2 separate regions of the Homo sapiens genome follow, and region 1 is linked to region 2. Evidence: promoter capture Hi-C in 16 types of primary human blood cells and fetal thymus (Javierre and others, 2016). All regions are on one chromosome and are shown on one strand. The core of a region is centred on a gene start or on the middle of the fragment in contact, and the rest is flanking DNA. Distances in the headings are between cores, read along the strand shown. Region 1 has its middle 13 kb from the start of COX4I2. Region 2 holds the start of BCL2L1 (BCL2 like 1).

Evidence for each region. Contacts are between HindIII fragments. The CHiCAGO score rates a contact against its expected background, and 5 or more counts as called.
Region 1: a fragment that was not itself captured here is called in contact with the fragment with the promoter of BCL2L1 in region 2 in 10 of 17 cell types (M1 macrophages, total CD8 T cells, endothelial precursors and 7 more); the score reaches 7.5 in M1 macrophages.

The regions. Positions count from the first base shown.
Region 1 is chr20:31,647,729-31,653,539 of GRCh38, forward strand. No RefSeq gene overlaps it. Among named protein-coding and RNA genes, the nearest start is that of COX4I2, 13 kb to the left of the region's middle. RefSeq lists a silencer at 545-745. The HindIII fragment of the contact is 5,783 bases long and covers 1-5,249 here.
Region 2 is chr20:31,721,174-31,727,034 of GRCh38, forward strand. BCL2L1 (BCL2 like 1) reads right to left here and starts at 1,695. Exons shown (of 3, transcript NM_138578.3): 1 at 1,445-1,695; 2 at 482-1,175. The coding sequence starts at 1,045. RefSeq lists enhancers at 1,314-2,069, 2,004-2,063, 2,070-2,824, 2,594-2,793 and silencers at 1,434-1,553, 1,604-1,713, 1,613-1,907, 2,114-2,563. The HindIII fragment of the contact is 6,728 bases long and covers 996-5,861 here.

The DNA.
Region 1 (5,811 bases), core at 1,108-3,607, 73 kb before region 2:
AGGCCATCGGCAAGCTGAGGAGAAGCCAGTCTGAGTCCCAAAACCTCAAAAGTAAGGAGGACGATAGTGCAGCCTTTAGTCTGGCTGAAGGCCTGAGAGCCCCTGGCAAATCACTGGTGTAAGTCTAAGAGTCCAAAAGCTGAAGTCTGATGAAAAACTTGGAGTCTGATGTTCGAGGGCAGGAAGCACCCAGCATGGGAGAAAGATGAGGCCAGAAGACTCAGCCAGTTTAGTACTTCCACGTTCTTATGTGTGATTATTTATTTATTTATTTATTTGAGTCGGAGTCTCTCTCTGTCTCCCAGGCTGGAGTGCAGTGCCGTGATCTCAGCTCCCTGCAACCTCTGCCCCCTAGGTTCAAGCAATTCTCCTCTCTCAGCCTTCTGAGTAGCTAGGATTACAGGCATGGGCCACCAGCCTGGCTAAGTTTTGTATTTTTAATAGAGATGGGGTTTCACCATGTTGGCCAGGCTGGTCTTGAACTCCTGACCTCAGGTGATCCGCCCACGTTGGCCTCCTAAAGTGCTGGGATTACAAGCATGAACCACCACACCCGGCCCCTCTGTCTACTTTTAACCCAGCTGTGCTGGCAGCTGATTAGATGGTACCTACCCAGATTGAGGGTGAGTCTGCCTCTCCTAGTCCACTGACTCAAACATTAATCTCCTTTGGCAACACCCTCCAAGACACACCCAGGAACAATACTTTGCATCCTTTAATCCAATCAAGTTGACATTCAATTTTTTTTTTTTTTTTTTTTTTTTTGAGATGGAATCTCGCTCTGTCACTCAGGCTGGAATGCAATGGCGCGATCTCGGCTCACTGCAACCTCTGCCTCCTGGGTTCACGCCATTCTCCTGCCTCAGCCTCCTGAGTAGCTGGGACTACAGGCGCCCACCACCAAGCCTGGCTAATTTTTTGTATTTTTAGTAGAGACGGGGTTTCACTGTGTTAGCAGGATGGTCTCGATCTCCTGACCTCGTGATCCTCCCACCTCGGCCTCCCAAAGTGCCGGGACTACAGGCATGAGCCACTGCACCCAGCTGACACTCAGTGTTAACCATCACACCTAGTAACTCCATTGTGCTCAGTCCCTGGTTGGGAGCGGCCCAGAAAGATCATGGCCTCAGCATGAACACTACAGCAGGTCTGAAAGTGTGGCAGCTGGAGGTGGTCACACAACTACCCTCTTCATAGCAGGTTCTCTTGAAGAATCTGAGTAGCACGTCTCCATAGATGCCCTAGGTGCCAAAGGAAGAATTTAGCAAAGCAGTTGTGACAACAGTCATTCAACCAACAAATATTTATTGTGGATTTTAACTTAATCAGCTATTTATTTATTTATTTATTTATTTATTTATGAGACAGAGTTTCTCTCTTGTCGTCCAGGCTGGAGTGCAGTGGTGCGATCTCGGCTCACTGCAAGCTCCGCCTCCCGGGTTCAAGGAGTTCTCCTTCGTTCAAGCAGTTCTCCTGCCTCAGCCTCCTGAGTAGCTGGGATTACAGGTGCTCACCACCACACCTGGCTAATTTTTTGTATGTTTAGTAGAGATGGGGTTTCACTATGTTGGCCAGGCTGGTCTTGAACTCCTGACCTCGTGATCCACCCGCCTCGGCCTCCCAAAATGCTGGGATTACAGGCGTGAGCCACTGTGTCCGGCTTAATCACCTCTTTTAAAAGGTCTTATCTCCAAATGCAGTCCCATTCTGAGGTGCTGGGGGTTAGAACATCCACATATGAATTTGGGGAGACACAATTGAGACCACAATAGTTGGGCTCAGGGCTAGGCACGGTGGCTCACGGCTGTAATCCCAGGATTTGGGAGGCTGAGCAGGGCAGATCACTTGAGGCCAGGAGTTCTAGACCAGCCCGGCCAACATGGAGAAACCCCATCTCTACTAAAAATACAAAAATTAGCTGGATGTGTTGGTGCACGCTTGTAATCCCAGCTACTTGGGAGGCTGAGACACAAGAATCGATTGAACCCAGAGGTGAATGTTGCAGTAAACCGAGATTGTGCCACTCCACTCCAGCCTGGGCAATAGAGCGAGACTCTGTTTCAGGAAAAAAAAAGTTGGACTGAAGGTTATTCTGTTTGTCTTTTTGTTCTGGGACCAGTGGACACCTAGGGCATGTTCTTCTCATGGCAGAAGTCTGAGACTTTGGCAGGGCAGAGGAATGGGTGGGGACACTCTTAAAGTCCAGGCCCAAAACAAGCACACACAAAACTGCACCACATTCCACTGGCCAAGGTATTCCAATTATGATTGCTGCATTACAAACCTACCTGAGACTGACTGGCATAAAACAATTATTTTACTATGTTCAGAGATTCTGTGAGTCAGGGATTTGGGCCGGGTATGGTGGAAACCCCTTGCCTCTGCTCTAGAACATCCGGGGCCTCAGCTGGAAACACTCAAGGGCTGTGACTAGGATTGGCTGGAGGTGTTTTCACTCACATATGTAGCACTTGATGCTGGGACCACAGCTGGACCTCAGATCAACTGGAACACCACTTTGTGGCTTCCCTCCATGGTCACTCTGTGTGGACTAGTTTGGTCTCCCTTAAAACATGGTAGCTGGAGGTCGGGTGAGGTGGCTTATGCCTATAATCCCTGCACTTTGGGAGGCTGAGGTAGGCAGACCATGAGGTCAATAGATCGAGACCATCCTGGCCAACACGGTGAAACCCTGTCTCTACTAAAATACAAAAATTAGCTGGGTGTGGTGGCATGTGCCTGTAGTCCCAACTAGTCGGGAGGCTGAGGCAGGAGAATCACTTGAACCCGAGAGGCGGAGGTTGCAGTGAGCCAAGATTGTACCACTGCACACCAGCCTGGAGACAGAGCGAGACTCGGTCTCAAAAACAAAAACAGTGGCTGGGTCCCAAGAGAGCGAAGGGGAAGTGCCTTGTCTTTCTTTCTTTTCTTTTCTTTTTTTTTTTTGAGACAGAGTCTTGCTCTGTTGCCCAGGCTGGAGTGCAATGGCGCCATCTCGGCTTACTGCAACCTCTGCCTCCTGGGTTCAAGCGATTCTTGTGCCTCAGCCACCCAAATAGCTGGGATTAGAGACGTGCACCACCACGCCCGGCTTTTTTGTGTGTATTTTTAGTAGAGATGGGGTTTCACCATGTTGGCCAGGCTGGTCTTGAACTCCTGACCTCAGGTGATCCGCCCGCCTTGGCCTCCCAAAGTGCTGGGATTACAAGTGTGAGCCACCGTGCCTGGCCTGCATGGTCTTTTTATGATTCAGCTTCAGAAGACAAAAAGCATCATTTCTGCTGGAGCCCAATGGTCAAGGCACTACCAAAGGTACACCCAGGTTCAAGAGGGAGAGGACATGGAGTCCACCACCCAGTAGGAGGACATCAAGATCCCATTGTAAAATGTGGTGTGCATGGGAGAAGGGAAATTTCTTCTTTTTTTTTTTTTTAATTTTATTTTAAGTTCCAGGATACATGTGCAAAACATGCAGGTTTGTTACATAGGTAAACGTGTGCCACGGTGGTTTGTTGTACCTATGAACTCATCACCTAGGTATTAAGCCCCGCGTGCATTAGCTATTTGTCCTGATGCTCTCCCTCCCCTCGCCCCCACAGGCCCTGGTGTATGTTGTTCCCCTCCCTGTGTCCATGTGTTTTCATTGTTCAGCTCCCACTTATGAGTGAGAACATGCGATGTTTGGTTTTCTGTTCCTGTGTTAGTTTGTTGAGGATGATGGCTTCCAGCTTCATCCATGTCCCTGCAAAGGACATGATCTCATTCCTCTCTTTTTGAGACCAAGCCTCGCTCTGTCACCCAGGCTGGAGTGCAGTGGAACGATCATAGCTCACTGCAGACTCGAACTCCTGGGCTCAAGGAATCCTCCCGCCTCAGCCTCCCAAAGTGCTGGGATTACAGGCATGAGCCCTGCACCTGGCCAAGAGGGAAAATTTTTGAGATCATTTTCGAAAATACAGTCTACCACCCGAGGTCAAGCCCAGTGTCGATGGACAGATAAATATCCTACAGCCAGGATGTGCATGGAGGCATGAGGAGAGAAGGCAGAATTGTGAGCAGATAATAAAATATTCTACAGATGTGGAGAAATGACCAACACAAAATGAAGTTGAAGGCTGGGTGTGGTGGCTCACACCTGTAGTCCCAACACTTTTGGAGGTTGAGGCAGGAGGACTGCCTGAGGCCAGGATTTTGAGATTAGCCTGGGCAACATAATGAGACCTATCTCATTACGGTTGTTGTTGTTGTTGTTGTTGTTGTTGTTGTTGTTGTTTGAGACGGAGTCTTGCTCTGTCGCCCAGGCTGGAGTGCAGTGGCGCAATCTCAGCTCACTGACACTTCCGCCTCCTGGGTTGAAGCTATTCTTCTGCCTCAGCCTCCTGAGTAGCTGGGATTACAGGTGCATGCCACCATGCCTGGCTAATTTTTGTATTTTTAGTAGAGACAGGGTTTCATCATGTTGGCCAGGATAGTCTCCATCTCTTGACCTCATGATCTGCCCTCTTGGCCTCCCAAAGTGCTGGGATTACAGGCATGAGCCACCACGCCTGGCTGTGTCTCAGGTCTTAAGGTCCCTAGCTGGTCAGCCTTCTTTCCACTTTTCAGAGTTTCCTTTTCTTTTTCTTTCTTTCTTTTTTTTTTGAGATGGAGTCTCACTCTGTGGCCCAGGCTGGAGTGCAATGGCATGATCTCAGCTCACTGCAACCTCTACCTCCTGGGTTCAAGCAGTTCTCATGCCTCAGCCTCCTTAGCAGCTGGGATCACAGGCATGAGCCACCATGCCTGGCTATTTTTTGTATTTTTGGTAGATACAGGGTTTTGTCATGTTGGGCAGAATGGTCTCAAACTCCTGGCCTCAAGTGATCCATCTGCCTCAGCCTCCCAAAGTGCTGGGATGACAGGCATAAGCCACCGCGCCCAGCCTGAGTTTTCTTATTCTTATTTTATATACAGTGTCAAAGGTTCTTAGTTTTACTTAGGAGGAGAAATAGGGAAAAGTACATCTGCTCCATCTTCCTGGATGTGGAAGTCCAGTGGTTCTTCCTAATATATATTAAAATATCTTTTGATATATAATCTCTCTCTCTCTCCCTACCCCTCCCTCCCCTTCCATTTCATTTGTTGAAAAAAATTGAGTCATTTGTCCTGAGGATTTCCCCCAGTCTGTATTTTGGTAATTGCAATCCCATGTGTCTCTTATTATGCCCCTCTGTCCCCGTTGTTTTCTGTAAATGGTGATTACATTTAGAAGCTTAGACTCACGCTTGATTTTTTTGGCAAGAATATTTTATGGGTGTGCTGTGTTCTCTTGGCAGGCAGCACATGACGCCTGGTTGTCTTTGTGTAGCATTAGCAGCTTTCATTGGTCATTGTGTAGATTCATTAACTTATTAGGAGTACAGATGGCTTTCAAATACATGAAAAGATGCCAACCTCAATTAGATTTTTAAAAATGAAATTTTAAAGTATGAGTACTATTTTTTCATCTACCAGATTGACAAGGATCAGAGTGTTAACACGAATGTTGGCAAGAGTGCAGAGGACAGGCGATTTCATAGGCTGCCTGATTGGACTGTATCCATCAAAATGACTAATGTATACACCCTTTGGCCCAGCAATTCTACTTTTAGGGATGTACCCTGTGGATACATGTGCATATATGCAAAATGATGGATTGCAGTATTGTTTGGATTAGCAGGAGTTAAAGCCTGGGCAACATAGTGAGACCTTGTCTCTACTACAAATAAAAAAATATTAGCCGGGCATGGTGGTGCATGCCTGTGGTCCCAGCTACTTGGGAGGCTGAGGTGG
Region 2 (5,861 bases), core at 445-2,944:
AACTTGATTTGGGGGAGAGAAGCCCAGGATAGGACTGAGACCCCTTGGGGGGAACAGATGGAGAGGTCTGTGGGTCATTGATGCTCATCATCTTCTCCAGGCATTATACTCATCACCCCTTTGTGTGTGAACCATTGTATAAGGTAAGGGAAACACCGAACTAACTTCCTACCCTCACAGGTTTGGGACTTAATGAACACATAGGCTACAGTTTTCTTTGCTGAGAAACTGGAACACAAGTATGGAATAGTGGAGTCATGGGGGTGACCAGGGTGAAAGATGCCTGATCTCTGAAGCACAGGGTCATTTGTATTTCCAAGGAGTTAACCTCTTGTGGTGAAATGAGGCCAGTCAGGTTTCCTCAACTATCAACGTCTCCAACAATCACCCAACACAACAGAAAGAGATACAGAAGAAGGGCTGTTGGGGATCTCTGACCAGAGGCCAAAGAAAAGGGACACACAAGGGGCTTGGTTCTTACCCAGCCGCCGTTCTCCTGGATCCAAGGCTCTAGGTGGTCATTCAGGTAAGTGGCCATCCAAGCTGCGATCCGACTCACCAATACCTGCATCTCCTTGTCTACGCTTTCCACGCACAGTGCCCCGCCGAAGGAGAAAAAGGCCACAATGCGACCCCAGTTTACCCCATCCCGGAAGAGTTCATTCACTACCTGTTCAAAGCTCTGATATGCTGTCCCTGGGGTGATGTGGAGCTGGGATGTCAGGTCACTGAATGCCCGCCGGTACCGCAGTTCAAACTCGTCGCCTGCCTCCCTCAGCGCTTGCTTTACTGCTGCCATGGGGATCACCTCCCGGGCATCCAAACTGCTGCTGTGGCCAGTGGCTCCATTCACCGCGGGGCTGTCTGCCAGGTGCCAGGATGGGTTGCCATTGATGGCACTGGGGGTCTCCATCTCCGATTCAGTCCCTTCTGGGGCCTCAGTCCTGTTCTCTTCCACATCACTAAACTGACTCCAGCTGTATCCTTTCTGGGAAAGCTTGTAGGAGAGAAAGTCAACCACCAGCTCCCGGTTGCTCTGAGACATTTTTATAATAGGGATGGGCTCAACCAGTCCATTGTCCAAAACACCTGCTCACTCACTGAGTCTCGTCTCTGGTTAGTGATTCTCTTCTAAGATCCAAAGCCAAGATAAGATTCTGAAGGGAGAGAAAGAGCTTCAGGAAAAAAAAATAATTAATATGCATGCCATTTACCCTAAAAATTCCATTCCCCCTCCAGGTACCAGAACTGGTTTCTTTGTGGGTCTTACGAAGGTCTGGGTCTAGGTTCCAAGATACTTCACTTAAGTCAAATCGAAAGCACCAGTGGACTCTGAATCTCCCACCAGCCTTTTCTACCCCCGTCTTCTCCGAAATGCCTTCCTCGGAAAGTCACTCCCTGGGCAGTCCCCCCCGCCCCACTCCCGCTCCCCCGCACCACCTACATTCAAATCCGCCTTAGGCAAAGGCAGGCAGGTGCAGCCCCCGGAAGATCTTTTGTATCACAGGTCGGGAGAGGAGGTGGCTGCGGGGATGCCGGTAACTCAGCCGGCCTCGCGGTGGCTGGCAAAAAAACCAGCTCCGGCCGGAGGGATCATGCGACCCGGCAGGCTGGGAGCCCAGAAGGCGACACAGGAATTGCGAAGCTCAGGAACCAGCCCCCTCGCTTGCTTCCTCCTCCATCGCCCGGATCGAGGGCGGCCGCTCCGCAGCCGCGGCCTCCTGCCACCCGGGAGCCCAGCCCCCTCTCTCTTGCACGCCCCTTGGCTCTCCGCCTCCTACTGGGAGCCAGGAGTACTCTCCCGGAGGTGGCTGGTATGGATTTAGTTGGTTTTTGTTTTTCTTTTTTCTATTTAAGCACCAGCCCAGGGTGAGGTGGAGGCGTCCGAAACCCTAAAGGGACTTCTCAATGGGGTTCAAGGTTTCAGTGAGGGACGCAGGGAGGGGGAAACTGCCTCAGATCTGCAATCTGACTTTGGGAAGGCCACCCCCAGGCCTGTCTGTGATGTTGAAGGCCGGAGACCCCCAACAAATGCCGCTGGTTTGCTCTGAATTCCCCAAAGGCCCAGAACGTGGCAGTTGGGGATTGCCGGGTCCTCCATTCCCCGCCCGGACACAATGGCCGCCGGCGCCCTGCACAAAGACTGGGTGAGGGTGAGGCGCTGGGCCTCTCCTCAGGTCAGGAAGAGGGGTCGAGGCCTGCTCGACGGCCCCACAGCTGAGACCACGTTTTCCTGGGGACAGGCCCAAAGTGGCTTTCTGGCGCCCCCGGGAGGGCTCCGGGGCCGGGGGCTGCACCTCTCCGGAGCCCAGGGTGGGCCGGCTGCGGCCTAGCGGCTTCTCGAGCTCACTAGGCCGGGTACCCGCCGAGCCACCGCCCCGTTGCTAGGCAACCGCCCTCCCCCGGGGGCGCCCCCTAGACCTTCCTGAGAGGAGGGGCCTCGCCCCCGGCGGTCCGCCCCAGCGCAGCCAATCAGCGAGCCCAGCCGGCACGGAAGCGGGACGGCGAAGGCTCCTATTGGGCGCAACGGCTGTCACGCACAGGGGAGGCGGCGCTCTCACCTGCGAGCCCCGCGAGCCGTGGGGGGCCACATCCCCCTTCATCGGCCCGGTAGCTTCCAGACGCAAGAGCTCTTCGCGGCCGAGTTCCGCGCCGCGGACCCGGGCCGGCCTACCTGGCTGCCGGCCTACCTGGCTGACTGCTCGCGCCGTCTCTCCCGAACAAGCCGGCCTCAGTTTCCCCTGAAGAGACAGGGGAACTTGCAAGCTCAGTCACTTCCGGTGCCGCGGCAACGCGCGCGAGCCCGAGACGCAAAGGGAGTGCGCGCCTTGAGTGACTGGCATCAGGACCGGGGAGAGATCGCCCCCTCGCGGTAGATCTGGGGAATCGGGAGGCGCAAAAAATCAACATTTATAATCACATTTCCATTTATTCATTCAGTCAGTCAGTCAGTCACTCATCAGTCAATCAGCCTATTTCATCCGTCCGTCAGTTTATATATAGAAGAAGCATCGCCTTGTGGTTAAGCACTTTGTCTGGATTCTAACTCTGCTAGTTAGGCAAGTTTCTCAACTGCTCTGTGCTTCAATGTCCTCAATTGTAAAATGGGTAATAGTACCAACCTCTCTCGTTGAGCTATTGTGATGATTAAGAGAGTTATTAATTGTAAACTCCATAGGACAGGCCGGGCGCGGTGGCTCACGCCCGTAATCCCAGCACTTTGGGAGGCCGAGGCGGGCGGATCACCTGAGGTTAGGAGTTCAAGACCAGCGTGGCCAATGTGGTGAAACCCCGTCTCTACTAAAAATACAAAAAATTAGCTGGGCGTGGTGGCGCATGCCTGTAATCCCAGCTACTCGGGAGGCTGAGGCAGCAGACTCGCTTACAGGAGAATCGTTTACAGGCGTGAGCCACCGCGCCCCGCCAATTTCCTTACACCCTGAACCACACAGTGTGTTATCAAATGTTTTATCCTTGCCAATTAGATGGGTAAAAACCGAAGGCACTTTCATATTTCTTTTTTTATTATGAATGAAGTTGAGCAATTTGTCATATTTTTTAGTCTTTCTTTGGAGGGTGGTGGATCTTGTATTGGTGAATTTTCTTCATATTGTTTACCCCTTTTTCAGGTGGTCTTTCTGTTGAACTCTTTCCTCATTTTTTTTTTTTTTTTTGTTATTGTTGTTTGTTCGAGATGGAGTCTTGCTCTGTTGCACAGGCTGGAGTGCAGTGGTGCTATCTTGGCTCACTGTAAACTCTGCCCGCCAGGTTCAAGTGATTGTCCTGCCTCAGCCTCCCTAGTATCTGGGACTACAGGTACACACCACCACGCCCGGCTAATTTTTGTATTTTTAGTAGAGACAGGGTTTCACCATTTTGGCCAGGCTGGTCTCAAACTGCTGACCTCAGGTGATCCGACTGCCTCAGCCTCCCAAAGTGCTGGGATTACAGACATGAGCCACCGTGCCCGGCCTTTTTTTTTTTTTTTTTTTTGAGACAGGGTATGTCACCCAGCCTGCAGTGCAATGGTGTGATCTCAGCTCACAGCAGCCTCGACCTCCCCATCCCAGGTGATCCTCCCACCTCAGCCTCCCCAGTAGTTGTGAATACAGGCTCGCACCTCCACACCCAGCTAATTTTTGTATTTTTTGTAGAGAATGGAGTTTCCCCATGTTGCCCAGGCTGGTCTCAAACTCCTGGGCTCAAGTGATCTGTCTATGTCGGCCTCCCAAAGTCCTGGAATTACAGGCATTAGCCACCACACCTGGCTCTGATTTACATTTTTTTTGCTGTTTTTCGAGATGGAGTCTTGCTCTGTCACCCAAGCTGGAGTGCGGTGGTGCGATCTCGGCTCACTGCAGCCTTCGCCTCCTGGGTTCAAGTGATTCTCCTGCCTCAGCCTCCTGAGTAGCTGGGATTACAGGCACCTGCCACCACGCCCGGCTAATTTTTGTATTTTTAGTAGAGACGGGGTTTCACCAGTTGGTCAGGCTAGTCTCGAACTCCTGACCTCGTGATCCGCCCACCTTGGCCTCCCAAAGTGCTGGGATTACAGGTGTGAGCCAGCGCGCCCGGTCTGATTTACATTTTTGAACCTATGGTGCCACAATTATCTCAATGTGAAAACTATCATTATGGAAGCCTCAGTGTGCTTTGGGAGCCCAGCAGAGGGCAGATAAACTCTGTCCACAGATAGGGGCTTTACTGAACTGGCCCTCAAAAGAATAGAATTTTGCTTGGGTGAGAAAGGATGTAGGAGCATTTTAAGCAGAAGATATTGCTTGAGCGAAGGCCTGGCAGCCCAGCGTGAGAGCCCATGGTGTCCTGGAAATAAATTGGGATGGCTGAGGGGAGTGGTGGAGAGGGGATGGAATATAAATGTGTATCCATGCGAGCAGCACATCAAATAGCACCAGAGGAGCCAGCAAAGATTTTTTTAAACCAGAAAGAACATGAAGAAATTTATATTTTGGAAAGATGGATACATATTTTGGAAAAAGAATTTTGCAAGTCTTGAAAATGGCTCTCAAATGATCTTTGACTGGAATCTAATTTAAAGAAAATAAGTTACATTTAAATCTAAAGAAAATAAGTTTTCTTTTTTATACTTCTCTATGTTGTCTACACATAACTTTGTATTTTTTTTCTTTTTTCTTTTTCTTTTTTTTTTTTTTTTGAGATGGAGTCTTGCTCTGTTGCCCAGGCTGGAGTGCAGTGGCATGATCTTGGCTCACTGCAACCTCTGCCTCCTGGGTTCAAGCGATTCTCTGGCCTCAGCCTCCCTCTTTTTTTTTTTTTTTTTTTTGATACAGAGTCTTGTTCTATCGCCAAGGCCGGAGTGCAGTGGCACAACCTCGGCTTACTGCAACCTGTGCCTCCCGGCTTCAAGTGATTCTCCTGTCTCACCATGTTGGTCAGGCTGGTCTCGAACTCCTGACTTTGTGATCCGCCGGCCTCGGCCTCTCAAAGTGCTGGGATTACAGGCGTGAGCCATTGCGTCCAGCTATTATTTTTAATTATATAACACTATCTAAAAACATGCTAACTTTGGCCGGGCACAGTGGCTCACGTCTGTAGTACCAACACTTTGGGAGGCCAAGGCGGGTGGATCACGAGGTCAGGGGTTCAAGACCAGCCTGGCCAACATGGTGAAAGTCCGTCTCTACTACAAATACAAAAATTAGCTAGGCATGGTGGCAGGTGCCTGTAATCCCAGCTACTCAGGAGGCTGAGGCAGGAGAATCACTTGAACCCAGGAGACAGAGTTTGCAATGAGCTGAGAGCATGCCACCACACTCCAGCCTGGGCAACAGAGTGAGACTCTGCCTCAAAAAAAAAAGAAGAATCCCAGAAACAGACCA